Regions from separate parts of the Homo sapiens genome. Here regions 2, 3 and 4 are each linked to region 1. The links are contacts of gene promoters, found by promoter capture Hi-C in blood cells and fetal thymus (Javierre and others, 2016). All regions are on one chromosome and are shown on one strand. Each heading gives the region's core, a stretch centred on a gene start or on the middle of the fragment in contact. The rest is flanking DNA. Distances are from core to core; before and after follow the strand shown.

The links. The method cuts DNA at HindIII sites, captures the fragments that hold promoters and counts their contacts. A CHiCAGO score of 5 or more calls a contact.
Region 2: a contact is called between a fragment that was not itself captured here and the fragment with the promoter of ASPRV1 in region 1, in 1 of 17 cell types (neutrophils). The highest score is 5.0, in neutrophils.
Region 3: a contact is called between a fragment that was not itself captured here and the fragment with the promoter of ASPRV1 in region 1, in 1 of 17 cell types (neutrophils). The highest score is 6.0, in neutrophils.
Region 4: a contact is called between a fragment that was not itself captured here and the fragment with the promoter of ASPRV1 in region 1, in 8 of 17 cell types (total CD8 T cells, activated CD4 T cells, naive CD8 T cells and 5 more). The highest score is 7.5, in total CD8 T cells.

Annotation. Positions count from the first base shown.
Region 1 is chr2:69,960,163-69,963,759 of GRCh38, reverse strand. ASPRV1 (aspartic peptidase retroviral like 1) reads left to right here and starts at 2,129. Exons shown (of 1, transcript NM_152792.4): 1 at 2,129-3,597. The coding sequence starts at 2,324. The coding sequence ends at 3,103. PCBP1-AS1 (PCBP1 antisense RNA 1) reads left to right here. Exons shown (of 11, transcript NR_033872.1): 11 at 260-1,497. RefSeq lists a silencer at 1,949-2,243. The HindIII fragment of the contact is 12,271 bases long and covers 1-3,597 here.
Region 2 is chr2:70,253,462-70,256,840 of GRCh38, reverse strand. It overlaps the pseudogene RPL39P15. Among named protein-coding and RNA genes, the nearest start is that of MIR1285-2, 2.1 kb to the right of the region's middle. The HindIII fragment of the contact is 2,291 bases long and covers 455-2,745 here.
Region 3 is chr2:70,271,438-70,275,025 of GRCh38, reverse strand. It overlaps PCYOX1 (prenylcysteine oxidase 1), which reads right to left. Exons shown (of 6, transcript NM_016297.4): 4 at 1-67. Among named protein-coding and RNA genes, the nearest start is that of PCYOX1, 15 kb to the right of the region's middle. The HindIII fragment of the contact is 5,117 bases long and covers 1-3,588 here.
Region 4 is chr2:70,230,626-70,234,261 of GRCh38, reverse strand. TIA1 (TIA1 cytotoxic granule associated RNA binding protein) reads left to right here. Exons shown (of 13, transcript NM_022173.4): 3 at 3,408-3,506. Among named protein-coding and RNA genes, the nearest start is that of TIA1, 16 kb to the left of the region's middle. The HindIII fragment of the contact is 3,093 bases long and covers 283-3,375 here.

The DNA.
Region 1 (3,597 bases), core at 880-3,379:
CAGGTTGTTATACTCCTCATGGAGGTGATGTGTGTAAAATGCTTTGCCAATGTGAACACCAAACCCACTCAAATGAGGTCCCAAGGGACCACCGATTTCTAGTCTAAGGGCAGTAGGGAGATCGGAATTCAACATCTACCACTATGGTTTGAAAAGCCGGTTCAGGGCATTTGGCAGTCCCAGCTTGTCAGCTGACAAGCCACCTGCCTCGCTCCTCCCTTGGTCGCATGCTAACCTCCTCACTCATTTCCACTTCCAGGGGACCAGATGTGCAGAGGTAATGAATACCAGGGAATCAGGAAACCACTGGATCAGTTCTTTGAGCCACAGAACAACACTCATCCCAGCAGCTGGGAAGCTATCTGCAAAAGTCCATCTGCAGAAAGGGCTTCCTGGTCTTGCGTGTGGCTGGGCCATTTCTCTGGATGCAGGTTTTTCATTATACAGTCTTCTCAAAGAACCACCTGCTCTCAACACCTTCTCGGTGACTCCATTTCCCCTCCTCTGGGCTCCTGGAATGCCACAATGGCCCCACCTTAGCCAGGCAGCTGTGATGAGAGGTGTTGACCCAACTGCCTCTCTGCTGGCTCACTGAATCAGGTGGAAGGGGCTGGGGACAGCACAGTCTTGCATTGTGGTTGGGGACCTGGGCCATCCAGAGGCAGGACTGTCCAAAGGCAGGGTACTGCTGGGATTCCGCCAGGCACTGGGTGATGCATGGCATAGGGAGCTGAAGAGGGACAGGCTCTTGGCCAGGAAAAACAGCCCCAGAGCCACAGGTGTGCCATCGAGTCTTCCTCCTCTCCCATCCTTAATCACTCCTGTTTGGTGACAGCACACAGCTAGGCCTGGAGCCCAGCAAAGAGCCCCTGGGTCCCAGAGGAAGTTGTTCTGGGGGCTGGAGACAATCACAAATGCCAGGTTTGTGAGCCCCAGACTCTGGTTCATAGCAAGAGGCAGACTTGTGAACAAACCACCAGATCACACCGTAAAACACGCTCAACGAGGAGTGGGTGCCCTTTCTAGGGACAGGCAGAAGGCTCCATGGAGTGACCTTTGAATGGGGACATAAAAGTGGATCCCTTCAACAGCCCCTGCACAGCCCCAAGTCAGGCCTCCAGCCCTTGGACTCACAGATGTCCTCTGTAGACGACTGGATGTCCTCCCGTGCTACCCTTTACCCCTGCAGCGAGGGGCACAGAGCCAGAGCCCTCCAGGTCCTCACCACTGGCATCACCAACATAGTGGACATTTTCCCTCTCAGAATGAAAAGGGAGTGAAATTTCCCGTGATCTTTCCACAAATGACCAGCTTGGGGAGTGGGAGAGGAAGTGCTGCAGTGCCTGGGGAAGGGGCCCTGGAACAGTTCCTGGAAATGGAGAGGGGTGGATAGGGTGGAGACAATGCTCATGGAGTGCAGTATGGGGCCTACCCAGAGTTGCTTGGCCACCCCTCTGCCTCTGAATCAGGGGTGATCAATGAAGGAAAATTACTGCAGCAGTTGAGTCCATGTAAGATGATTGTGCACGTGTGTGTGTGTGTGTGTGTGTGTGTGTGTGTCCTCACTCACTTAAAAAAGACCATTTCTGTGCATTCTTTATGCTGGAACCCTCCTCTGCCTCCCTCTCCAGGAAATCCCATAGGATCCCATACCTGCTTTAGAATGTGTGTGAGACACTTCCCAGTGCCTGGCATGTGGTAGGAGCTCAGTACATGTAAACTGTTTTCCTTTGACCACTCAAAGTAGTCACTTGTTGGGGAGGCCAATGGCGGCTTCCCCGGTCTCTGAGCTGATGGGCGTCTGGTCCCTGCCTCCCCTTCCTTCACTGGCTGATGACAAATACCTGAATGTCATCACATCCTCCGTGTCCTCATCTGTTATTCTGGAACACAGGCCAGGGAGGGTACAGGGTAGTCCCCCTTCAACAGAGGCTGGCCTTTCTTGGGATGTGGGCTGGCTGGTGTTGGTCCAAGGATGGATGCAGAGGGTGAGGCACCCATCCTGCTAGTCCGGCCGGATGCTGGCAGGAGGGCGGGGTGAGGAGGGGCGGAGCTTCCAGAACAAAGGAGAATGGGGAGCCCAGGGGCCAGCCTAGGCATCAAAAAGGCTCTGCAGAGTGAACAGGCCACAGCACTGCCTGCCTCTGCCCCAGCAGTCAGCCAGCCGACCGCGCCTGCTCCCTCCTGCTTGCCCAAGGCCGGGCAAGTCATCCCCACTCTGCTTCGAGAGGCCCCGTTTTCCAGCGTGATTGCGCCGACACTGCTCTGTGGGTTTCTCTTCTTGGCGTGGGTTGCTGCTGAGGTTCCAGAGGAGAGCAGCAGGATGGCCGGGAGCGGAGCCAGGAGTGAGGAAGGCCGCCGGCAGCATGCCTTCGTCCCGGAACCTTTTGATGGGGCCAATGTCGTCCCAAACCTCTGGCTGCACAGCTTTGAAGTCATCAATGACCTCAACCATTGGGACCATATCACCAAGCTAAGGTTCCTGAAAGAGTCCCTCAGAGGAGAGGCCCTGGGTGTCTACAATAGGCTCAGTCCCCAGGACCAGGGAGACTATGGGACTGTGAAAGAGGCCCTCCTGAAGGCCTTTGGGGTCCCTGGGGCTGCCCCCAGCCACCTGCCCAAAGAGATCGTCTTTGCCAACAGCATGGGTAAGGGCTACTATCTCAAGGGGAAGATTGGCAAAGTGCCCGTGAGGTTCCTGGTGGACTCTGGGGCCCAGGTCTCTGTGGTCCACCCAAACTTGTGGGAGGAGGTCACTGATGGCGATCTGGACACCCTGCAGCCCTTTGAGAATGTGGTAAAGGTGGCCAATGGTGCTGAAATGAAGATCCTGGGTGTCTGGGATACAGCGGTGTCCCTAGGCAAGCTGAAGCTGAAGGCACAGTTCCTAGTGGCCAATGCGAGTGCCGAGGAAGCCATCATTGGCACTGATGTGCTCCAGGACCACAATGCTATCCTGGACTTTGAGCACCGCACATGCACCCTGAAAGGGAAGAAGTTTCGCCTTCTGCCTGTGGGAGGGTCCCTGGAAGATGAGTTTGACCTGGAGCTCATAGAGGAGGACCCCTCCTCAGAAGAAGGGCGGCAGGAGCTATCCCACTGAGAAGCCACCTTTTCTTTAACCTCCTAAATATTGGTGGGAAGACCCACCGCTGTGGGGGGGGTTGCATATCCTCATGGGGGTCACTGGGCTTGGCCAGTCTGCTTATCAACTCTTGCTCTTCTCTCCCCTTTGCCTCCCTCTGCAGGGGCCTTAATCTGCCCCTGGTAGGGGAGGCTTCCACTGAACAGGCACAGGTGAGGGAGAGCAGGCTGGCTTAGAGGGACAGGGTCCCCATGGTCATCAAGCTGCTGTTGATGACAAAGACTCAAAGGCTGGAAGAGCTCCCAAGGAAGCTAGAAATGCTTGTCTTTGAAAGAACTGTGGGACCCCTTCAGATTCCCTGAGGTATGGCTTGGTCACTCTCAGGTCCTCAAAGCCTGTCTTAGTTGGGCTGGGTCCTAGCTGCAGGGTCTTTGTGAGGGTCACAGTTGCTCTGGGACACCTCCCTGAAGAGCCTTTCCACCTGTACAATCGTATTTTCTTTCTGTCATTTG
Region 2 (3,379 bases), core at 351-2,850, 290 kb before region 1:
GTGCCTGGCTAATTTTGTGTATTTTTAGTAGAGACGAGGTTTCAGTGTGTCAGCCAGGATGGTCTCGATCTCCTGACCTCATGATCCACCCGCCTCGGCCTCACAAAGTGCTGGGATTACAGGTGTGAGCCACCGCGCCTGGCCATGAACACCTACCTTAAACATTACTTAATTTAGGCTAACTACAATGAGCCTCGCTACTTATATTTTTATCATGCATCTTACATTTTAATGTCCTTACTCTTTTATAGAAAAGGTCATAAAGAATGCCCAACTAATAAAGAATCTCTAATATCTCTGATACAGCAACAACTGATCACATACTTTCACATGTGAATACAATAGAAATAAAGTAACAGCATAAAGTAATTTGAAAGCTGTATTATATTATTATTCACTTTTCAAAAAATTGTTTTCAAGGAAACAAATATACTTTCAATGTAATTACAAAGCTTCAAAAAAACTCCTTTTAAAGTTATATACAAATAATTTAACAACTTTAATTGTGAATTCATTTTTATACTCAACACTCCTATTTAGTGTAATGTCTGAAGTAAAGCAGGACATAAATTTTAAAAGGCAAAGGTATCCCTCTTCCCACACTGCCTGGAAGGACAAAGGTTAATCACTAAAGACAATTTTACGCCTGTTAAATAAAATTCATAGGAAGCCATTGGTTTGGACTGAGCTCCTGCACTAGACTAGGCCCAACAGACTAAACCAAAATGGAGTCACTCAAGTCACTCATGTTCCACATCACAAGGTCAAAACTAAGTTGTCGATCTGACTTTCTAAGAAATCAGGAGAAAGAAAAATAATAGCCAAATTCCCGACAGACCAGTTTGAAGTGACATGATAAGGAAATACCCTCTGCTTTAAACTTTTCAAGGAAAGTAACCTCGAAACAACCAATGCACTTTTCTGTTTCTGCTTTCTTCAGCCCTTTCTGAAAGCCAACCTCCTCCACTCAACTCATAGGAACACTCATTCGATTTTATAAAATGAGGTGTTGCACAATTCTACAATCGCAACTAAAAGCCAATTATGCTCTTTAAACTAAATTAGTTGTAATTTTGTCTTTTGACAAACCTTTATCAGCCAGGAATCTACATGACAAACTTCATTAATGAGCCTTTTTCTATCGCGTATTTGCCTTCCCATAATTTGCCACCCCTAGAGACTCAAAATCATTTTCCTTCTCTTAACACTTCTCTTTTTTTTTCTTTCTTTCTTTTTTTTTTTTTTTTTGAGACGAAGTTTCGCTCTTGTTGCCCAGGCTGGAGTGCAATGGCGCAGTCTCACGGCAACGTCCGCCTCTCGGGTTCAAGCAATTCTCCTGCCTCAGCCTCCTGAGTAGCTGGGATTATAGGGAAGCGCCACCACACCCAGCTAATTTTGTATTTTTAGTAGAGATGGGGTTTCTCCGTGTTGGTTAGGCTGGTCTCGAACTCCCGACCTCAGGTGATCCGCCCACCTCGGCCTCCCAAAGTGCTGGAATTACAGGCGTGAGTCACTGTGCCCGGTTCTCTTAACACTTCTCTAAACATATACTGTTCTTTTTTGAAGATGCTGTATAATCCTGAATTCAAAGCTACCTCTTGGAGATTTGCTCATTTCCCTGGTCTCTCTTTTGAATACGTGACGTACATGTTTTTAAATTTCTGTTTTTCTTTTTTTCTTTCTTTCTTTTATTTATTTTGAGATGGCTTCGCTCTGTCACCCAGGCTGAAGTGCAATGGCACTATCACGGCTCACTGCAACCTCTCGCTCCTGGGCTCAAGCGATCCACCCACCTCAGCCACCAGAGTAGAGTACCTGGGACCACAGGCATCCACTACCATGCCCAGCTAATTTTTACATTTTTTGTAGAGATGGTTTTTTGCCATATTGCCCAGGCTGGTCTGGAACTCCTGGGCTCCCAAAGTGTTGGGATTACAGGCATGAGCCACCATGCCTGGTCCTGTTTGTTTTCTTCTTGTTAATCTGTCTTTTGTTACAGGGGTCTATCACAACCAAAACCTCGGAAGGGTAGAGGAAAACTCTTTTTTTCTCCCCAACATACCATACAATAGAACATTATGCATGCATTAAAAGGAAGCCAGGCACGGTGGCTCACGCCTGTAATCCCAGCACTCTGGGAGACCAAGGCAGGCAGAATATCTGAGGTCAGGAGTTCAAGACCAGCCTGGCCAACGTGGCAAAACTCTGCCTCTACTAAGAATACAAAAATTAGCTGGGCGTGGTGATGCATGCCTGTAATCCCACCTACTTGGGAGGTTGAGGCAGGAGAATCACTTGAACTTGGGAGGCCAAGGTTGCAGTGAGCTGAGATTGCACCACTGCACTCCAACCTGACAGGCTGATCTCAAAAAAAAAAAAAATTACAAAAAAAGAATGTTGGAGCTTGGCGCAGTGGCTCACACCTGTAATCCCAGCACTTTGGGAGGCTGAAGCAGGCAGATCACCTGAGGTCAGGAATTTGAGACCAGGCTGGTCAACATGGTGAAACCCTGTCTCTACTACTAAAAATATAAAAATCAGCCAGGCGTGGTAGCGCACACCTGTAATCCCAGCTACTCAGGAACGCTGAGACAGGACAATTGCTTGAACCCAGGAGGCAGAGGCTGCAGTGAGCCAAGATTACGCCACTGCACTCCAACCTGGGCGACAGAGTGAGACTCCGTCTCAAAAAAAAAAAAAATGGGTCTATAACTAATGTCCTAGTATTATCAGTTGAGAAAAGCTTGTGGTTGCATGATGGGTATAAAATGATCTCATGCCTCTTTTCCTTTCTCTGCCATCGTGGTGTGTTCTTGACTCCACCCTCACCATGTCTTCTCACAAGACTTTCAGGATTAAGTGATTCCTGCCCAAGAAACAAAAGCAAAATCGTCCCATTCCCCAGTGGATTCGGATGAAAACTGGAAATAAAATCAGGTACAACTCCAAAAGGAGACATTGGAGAAGAACCAAGCTGGGTCTATAAGGAATTGTACATGAGATGGCACACATATTTATGCTGTCTGAAGGTCACGATCACGTTACCATATCAAGCTGAAAATGTCACCCCTATCTGGAGAGTTCGACGTGTTTTCCTCTCCGAATCTGTTATGAACGCATTGGTTGGCTGGGTTCAGTAATAAATATGTGAGGCCTTTCATTTAAAAAAAAAAAGTCTCATTTCTGTAATTACAATACTTCACCCAAACAAACAAACAAAAATAACTAGTACATGAACATGAAGAACAATATAGATGAGAAGAAAATAGGTTGGATACAAAATAAAGTTAAACTTGGAGAAAGAGGCTGGGCTCAGTGGCTCACACCTGTAATCCCAGCACTTTGGGAGGCTAGGGCAGGCGGACGATTTGAGCCCAGG
Region 3 (3,588 bases), core at 666-3,165, 310 kb before region 1:
TCCTAGAGCATGAAGTAATTTTTCGACACTACTGAAGGCATAGTCATGAGACTGGTAGCGGTAGATCCTTTGGAAAAGAAGAGAAATCCATTAAATACCAAACAAGATGTGGGGAAGGGGATGTATAAAGAAGGGAAGTGGCGTCATAAGAATCAAACTGACATCTAGGTGCAGTGGCTCACGCCTATAATCCCCACACTTTGGGAGGCAGAGGTGGGCAGGTCACCTGAGGTCAGGAGTTCAAGACCAGCCTGGCCAACATGGCAAAACCCCAGCTTTACTAAAAATACAAAAATTAACCAGGCATAGTGGTGTATGCCTGTGGTCCCAGCTACTTGGGAGGCTGAGGCAGGAGGACTGCTTGAGCCCCGGAATTCAAGGCCGCAGTGAACTGTGATAATGCCGCTGCACTCCAGCCTGGGCCAGACAGTGACAGTGTCTCTTAAAAAAAAAAAAAGAAAAAAAAAAAGAAAAGAAACTAAGGAAGAAAGAAAGAAGAAGAAAAAGGAAAAATAAAAAGTAGAAGTAAGGCCAGGCGCGGTGGTTTCATGCCTGTAATCCTAGCTCTTTGGAAGGCCAAGGCAGGCAGATCACTAGGTCAGGAGTTTGAGACCAGCCTGACCAACATGGTGAAACCCCGTCTCTACTAAAAATACAAAAATTAGCTGGGCCTGGTGGCGCACGCCTGTAATCCCAGCTATTCAGGAGGCTGAGGCAGGAGAATCGCTTCAACCCAGAAAGCGGAGGTTGCAGTGAGCCGAGATCACACCGCTGCACTCCAGCCTGGGCAACAGAGCGAGACTCCATCTCAAAAAAAAAAAAAAAAAAAAGTAGAAGTAAAATACTTTGTCTAAAGGCCACATGGCAAGTATAAGGCTCAATCACAACTTGCCCACTCTGCTGTCAATCACCCACACATGCACAGTCTCCACTGGAGCACACCTGACCCATTCACTGGTCTCTAAATTTGCCCTACATGCTGTATCCCCACCAGTGCACAAGCTCTTCCCTCCAACCTGAATACACTTCCCATTCCTAACCATGGAACATCTATTCTTCCTTAACAGAACTTGAATCCCACCTTCTCTGAAAAGTCTTGCTCAACTTCCCAGTCCACAGTTATATCATCTCCAGAAGCCTCATAAAACTTAGCACCAATGCCACTCATTCAACAATTAGATGCTTTCTATTATTTTTTAGAAAACATCACTTGACCAAAAAGAAAAATATCACCCAACACTTCTCTGCATTTTATGGATTTAAAACAACATTCACATAAATTAGTGCATTCAGTAATTCAAACACAATTTTTCATGTTGCAAATAGTACAAAGATGGAAAACAGGCTTAAGTTTGGGATAAGTAATACGGGGTTTATCTCTTATTCCCTTAAGGGGCTTATAGTTAGGGATAAGTAATAAGGCACATGCAGAGATAAGTATATGAAAATAAGAAATTAAGAGCCAAGGAAAGATCCCTATCACTGATCATGGAAGGGAAACTTTCACATCAAGTTTTTCTCTCAAAATGTACTATATTTTTTTACAGAACAAGGGACAGTATTATAACCATTTCAGTATTACCTACTAAAAGCATAGTAGTAGTATAAGTGTACAAAATGTTAAACACATTTTTATTGGAAAAACTGATTCGATATCTATGCCAAAACTGAGAAACTAAATACCTTCTAACCATAGCATTTGGGTCCCAGTCTTTAGGAGACTGGAAAAAGTAGGATGGAAACACTGAATTCTTCAGAAAAATAATAGCCTGGATATCTCATATCCAAAGAAGAGTGATCTTTGGCTAATGGTCAACATGAGAAAATAACAGTCAATTAAATAAGCTACTAATGATGCTATAAAAAACATATTCCCCAACTGCTCCTGCCAGAGCTGCAACCTCACTCAAGCAAGTCTCCCTGGGAGGGGGCGGGGTGGCAGCGGTGAGATGAAACTATATACACAATATAAACAGAGAGCACTCTAATTGTTTCATGATACAACTAATCGTATTAGAATAAATACACTGCTGGGTATGGTGGCTCATGCCTGTAATCCTAGCACTTTGGGAGGCAAAGTGGGGCAGCATCACTTGAGGTCAGTAGTTTGAGACCGCCTGGCCAACATGGTGAAACCCCATCTCTACTAAAAATACAAAAATTATCCAGGTGTGGTGGTGCATGCCTGTAATCCCAGCTACTCAGGTGGCTGAGGCATGAGAATTGCTTGACCCAGGAGACAGAGGTTGCAGTAAGTCAAGATCACACCACTGCACTACACCCTGGATGACAGAGCAAGACTCCATCTCAAAAAAATAATAATAATAAATGAAAAAACAGAATAAATACTACTAAAAAACAGCACCCAGGTGAGGCAGCATGCACCTGTAGTCACAGCTACTCAAGAGGCTGAGGTGGGAGGATCACTTAAGCCCAGGGGCACAAGGCTGTAGTACATTATGGTTGCACCTGTGAACAGCCAGCCAATATACTCCAGCCTGGGTGACAGAGTAAGACAGGAGGATACCTTGAGGCCAGGAGTTCAAGACTAGCCTGGGCAACATAGCAAGACTCTGTCTGTACACAAAATGTAAAAATTAGCCAGGCGCAGTGGTTCATGCCTGTAATCCCAGCACTTTGGGAGGCTGAGGCGGGCAGATCGCTTGAGGTCAGGAGTTTGAGACCAGCCTGGCCAACATAGCGAAACCCCACCTCTACTAAAAATACAAAAATTAACTGGGCATGGTGGCGCATGCCTGTAATACCAGCTACTTGGGAGGTGGAGGCAGGAGAATCGCTTGAACCTGGGAGGTAGAGGTTGCAGTGAGCCGAGATCGTGCCACTGCACTCTAGCCTTGGTGACAGAGTGAAACTCCCTCTCAAAAAAAAAAAAAAAAAAATTAAAAATTAGCCAGGCTCCTATATAATAGATTGATCATGCACCATATCCACAGGAGGTTGGAAAAACCATGCCATTTTCTGGAATTTAAGGGTGTTGCATTATTTCATCAATCATTTGTTGACAAAAAAGAAAAACTAAAAAATAAATTTAAAATGTGAACCTTCAGGTATTGAGTAACACCTTTATCTTGGTATAGAACTGATACTTTTTTTTTATTTTGAAATATCTGATAATAATTTGGAATGAAGTAAGGTTCTGTTAAAGAAAATATATTTGAAGACCCTTTAAAGCAGTGAATCTGAAACAATTTTCACACCCTTAAGTGGTTGATACGTACCTATTTTTAGGTATTTTGAGGTATTTACCATAAACTAAATTTAGAAATTTTTTAGATTCACTTGAAGTAAACATTACAAACATTGGATACGGTGGGGTTTTCTTTAGATTTTACTTGAGAGAAGGTGAGTACAAAGCAATTTGCAGTTGTTGTAATGACAAGATTACTGCGCAAGTGTGAATCCAAACAGTATAGCTTTTAAATTTTAAAGCATTTGGTAAATTATCGCTGAGTTTTTTTCTGTTGCCAATAGCAAACTGCTTTTCCATTAATGGAGAATTCACGCCTTTCAAGCATTTTAAATATGACAATATTTATAAATGTATGGTTTGGAGGAATCGTTTAAATT
Region 4 (3,636 bases), core at 580-3,079, 270 kb before region 1:
TTAATACATTGTCATAAATGCTCAATAGAAACATAAAGAAGGTGTTATTTTCATTTCATGTATGAGGAAATGAGGCAAAGCAAGGCTGTAAACCCTAATTGATTTATCCGAATATAAATCTTCTCTGTTGGTTTGCCTGCTGCTACTCTCTCTCTGGCTGGTCATATGTTTCCCTGGGGAAAGATCATTAGACAAAACGTTAATGATTGCCTTGGCTACAGAAAAAACCAGGTTAGCCTTTGCCACTTTTTATCATTTGTGGATTCTGATCGCTCAAAAGCTTAGATTTTTATTATTCAAATCTAAATTCCAGTCTGTTCACATTCTGAGACTAATGTTCACATTTATAAATTTTATGCTCCCTGGACTGATAATATGTATATATGCTTCGATTCTTATTTAAAAAGTTAGTTTTTTCTGCATATAAATTAAGTAAAGCATATTCTTTTTCATTTATTTACTCTTAAATGCAAGTGACTTTTTCTTTTTTTTTTTTTAGACAGAGTCTCACTCTGTTGCCCAGGCTGGAGTGCAATGGCATGATCTCAGCTCACTGCAAACTCTGCCTCCCAGGTTCAAGCTATTCTCCTGCCTCAGCCTCCTAAGTAGCTGGGATTACAGGCATGCGCCACCACACCTGGCTAGTTTTCGTATTTTCAGTAGAGACAGGGTTTCACCATGTTGGCCAGGTGGTCTTGATCTCCTGATGTCATGATCCGCCCACCCCAGCTTCCCAAAGTGCTGGGATTACAGGCGTGAGCCACCACAGCCAGCCGCAAGTGACTTTTTCTAACTTCATTTCAGTGTTGCCTGTCAGCATTGATCTTGGTAATAGAATTCCCATTGTGTTTTATTAGTTTGAGTTATATAACATTTTTATTCTCTAATTTTTTTAGACAAAATATAGTCCCAATATATTAAACTTTGTCTTGGCCTCGTTGCTTTAAAATTTTTACAAGTCATTGCCAGTGACTCTCAAACTATTAATTGTTGATGTGCACAGTGACTGATGCCTGTAATCCCAACACTTTGGGAGGCAGAGGCTGGAGGATCACTTGAGCCCAGGAATTTGAGACCAGCCTGGGCAACATAACAAGACCACATCTCTAAAAAAAAATTAATTAACTGTACTTGAAATAAAATTGTATATTCCTCTATTTTAGTAGCTTTCTAGTCTTTTGAATTAGTTTTTTATTTTAACAAATCTGTTTAGGAGGCTATGGAAAGAATTTTAAAATGGCCTATAATGTCATTTGATATTTTGCACTGTAGGTGTAAAAATTGGAATTTTTTTCTGCTACTTGAATTTATAATTAAACATCCAGGTTCTATTTATCACATAGCCTCACCTACCTGGAACACCAGCAGAAAAGGGAAGTTTTGTTTTTTTTTTTGAGACAGAGTCTCGCTGTGCGCCCAGACTGGAATCCAGTGGCACCATCTTGGCTCACTGCAACGTCCCCCTCCTGAGTTCAAGCGAATCTCCTGCCTCAGCCTCCCGAGTAGATGGGATTACAAGCACACGCCACCACACCCAGCTGATTTTTGTATTTTTAGTAGAGATGAGGTTTCACCATTTTGGCCAGGCTAGTCTCGAACTCCTGACCTCAGGTGATCCACCTGCCTCATCCTCCCAGAGTGCTGAGATTACAGGCATGAGCTACTGTGCCCGGCCAAGGGAAGATAATTTTTTTTTTTTTTTTTTTTTTTTTTTTTTTTTTGAGACAGAGTTTCACTCTTGTTGCCCAGGCTGGAGTGCAATGGCGCAATCTCGGCTCACCACAACCTTCGCCTCCAGGGTTCAAGCGATTCTCCTGCCTCAGCCTCCCGAGTAGCTGGGATTACAGGCATGCACCACCACGCCCGGCTAATTTTGTATTTTTAGTAGAGACAGGGTTTCACCATGTTGGTCAGGCTGGTCTCAAACTCCTGACCTCAGGTGATCAGCCCACCTTGGCCTCCCAAAGTGCTGGGATTACAGGTGTGAGCCATCATGCCTGGCTGGGAAGATAATTTTTTTTCTTTTTTCTTTTTTCTTTTTTTTTTTTTTTTTGAGACAGAGTCTCGCTCTGTCGCCCAGGCTGGAGTGCAGTGGTGCAATCTCGGCTCACTGCACACTGCAAGCTCCGTCTCCTGGGTTCACGCCATTCTCCTGCCTTAGCCTCCTGAGTAGCTGGGACTACAGGCGCCCGCCACCAGGCCCGGCTAATTTTTTGTATTTTTAGTAGAGACGGGGTTTCACCGTGCTAGCCAGGATGGTGTCGATCTCCTGACCTCATGATCCGCCTGCCTCGGCCTCTCGAAGTGCTGGGATTACAGGCATGAGCCACTGCGCCTGGCGGGAAGATAATTTTTTAAAGGCTTCTGAGCAAGCAAAAAATTGATGTCAGAAAGTTCACATTCTAAAACTTATTCTAAAATTTTACTTACCAGAGAATCTCTTCAGTTTTCAGAGCCTATTTACCTATATTTTAAAACAGGTTTAAGAAGGTTGGCTAAGATTTTCTGCTACTCAGCAAGCTAGTAGCAGCAAGGAGCAATGTACATTTGTAGCAGTAAAAAGTAACTTATAACAGGGAGGGGATAGAAAAATCATAAAAAGCCGAAGTGAGACTTCAGAACTTAGGAGTTCAGTCAAACTTAATCTGTGTAGCTTGAACAAATGGTTATATGATGATGGGGTATGTGTAGCTATATATCCAGTTAGGATACCTAGTCATTAATATTAAATTATAGTACTATAGTATAACCTGTTGAAGAAAATAGCTATGTATAAAAGCAGTGTGATTTTAAGTGTTTGCTTTTTTTTTTTTACTTTTTAATTATTTTAGAGACAGGATCTTGCTGTGTTGCCCAGGCTGGATTCAAACTCCTGGGCTCAAGCATTCCTCCCACCTCAGCCTCCTAAAGTAGCTGGGACTACAGGAGCTGGCTGTTTACTTTTTTGTTTGTTTGTTTTTGAGACGGAGTCTTGCTCTGTCGCCCAGGCTGGAGTGCAGTGGCGCAGTCTCAGCTTACTGCAACCTCCACCTCCCGGGTTCAAGCAATTCTCCTGCCTCAGCCTCCCGAGTAGGTGGGATTACAGGAGCCTGCCACCATGCCTGGTTAATTTTTGTATTTTTTTTTAATAGAGACAGGGTTTCACCACGTTGGCCAAGTTGGTCTCAAACTGCTGACCTCATGATCCACCTGCCTTGGCCTCCCAAAGTGCTGGGATTACAGGTGTGAGCCACCTCACCCAGCCTACTTTTTTAAATCTAAAATTTACTTGTGGAATAGACCATTCATTCTCCATGGCCTGATAACTTAGATGTATAAAACTTGGTTTAAGATTTTTTTTTTTACATAATTTTAAGGTAATGGGTGAATAAAGCTTAAAATTGGCTTTTGTGTTTCTTCTCCCACAGACAGCTGGAAATGATCCCTATTGTTTTGTGGAGTTTCATGAGCATCGTCATGCAGCTGCAGCATTAGCTGCTATGAATGGACGGAAGATAATGGGTAAGGTAAGCTGTCGTAATTAAAGAAGGTGACTTGCACTGAAAAAATTTAAGTTATATATGATTTTGTTTCCTTTTTAGAAACATTAAACACTTTTTTTTTTTTTTTGAGATGAAATTTTGCCCTTGTTGCCCA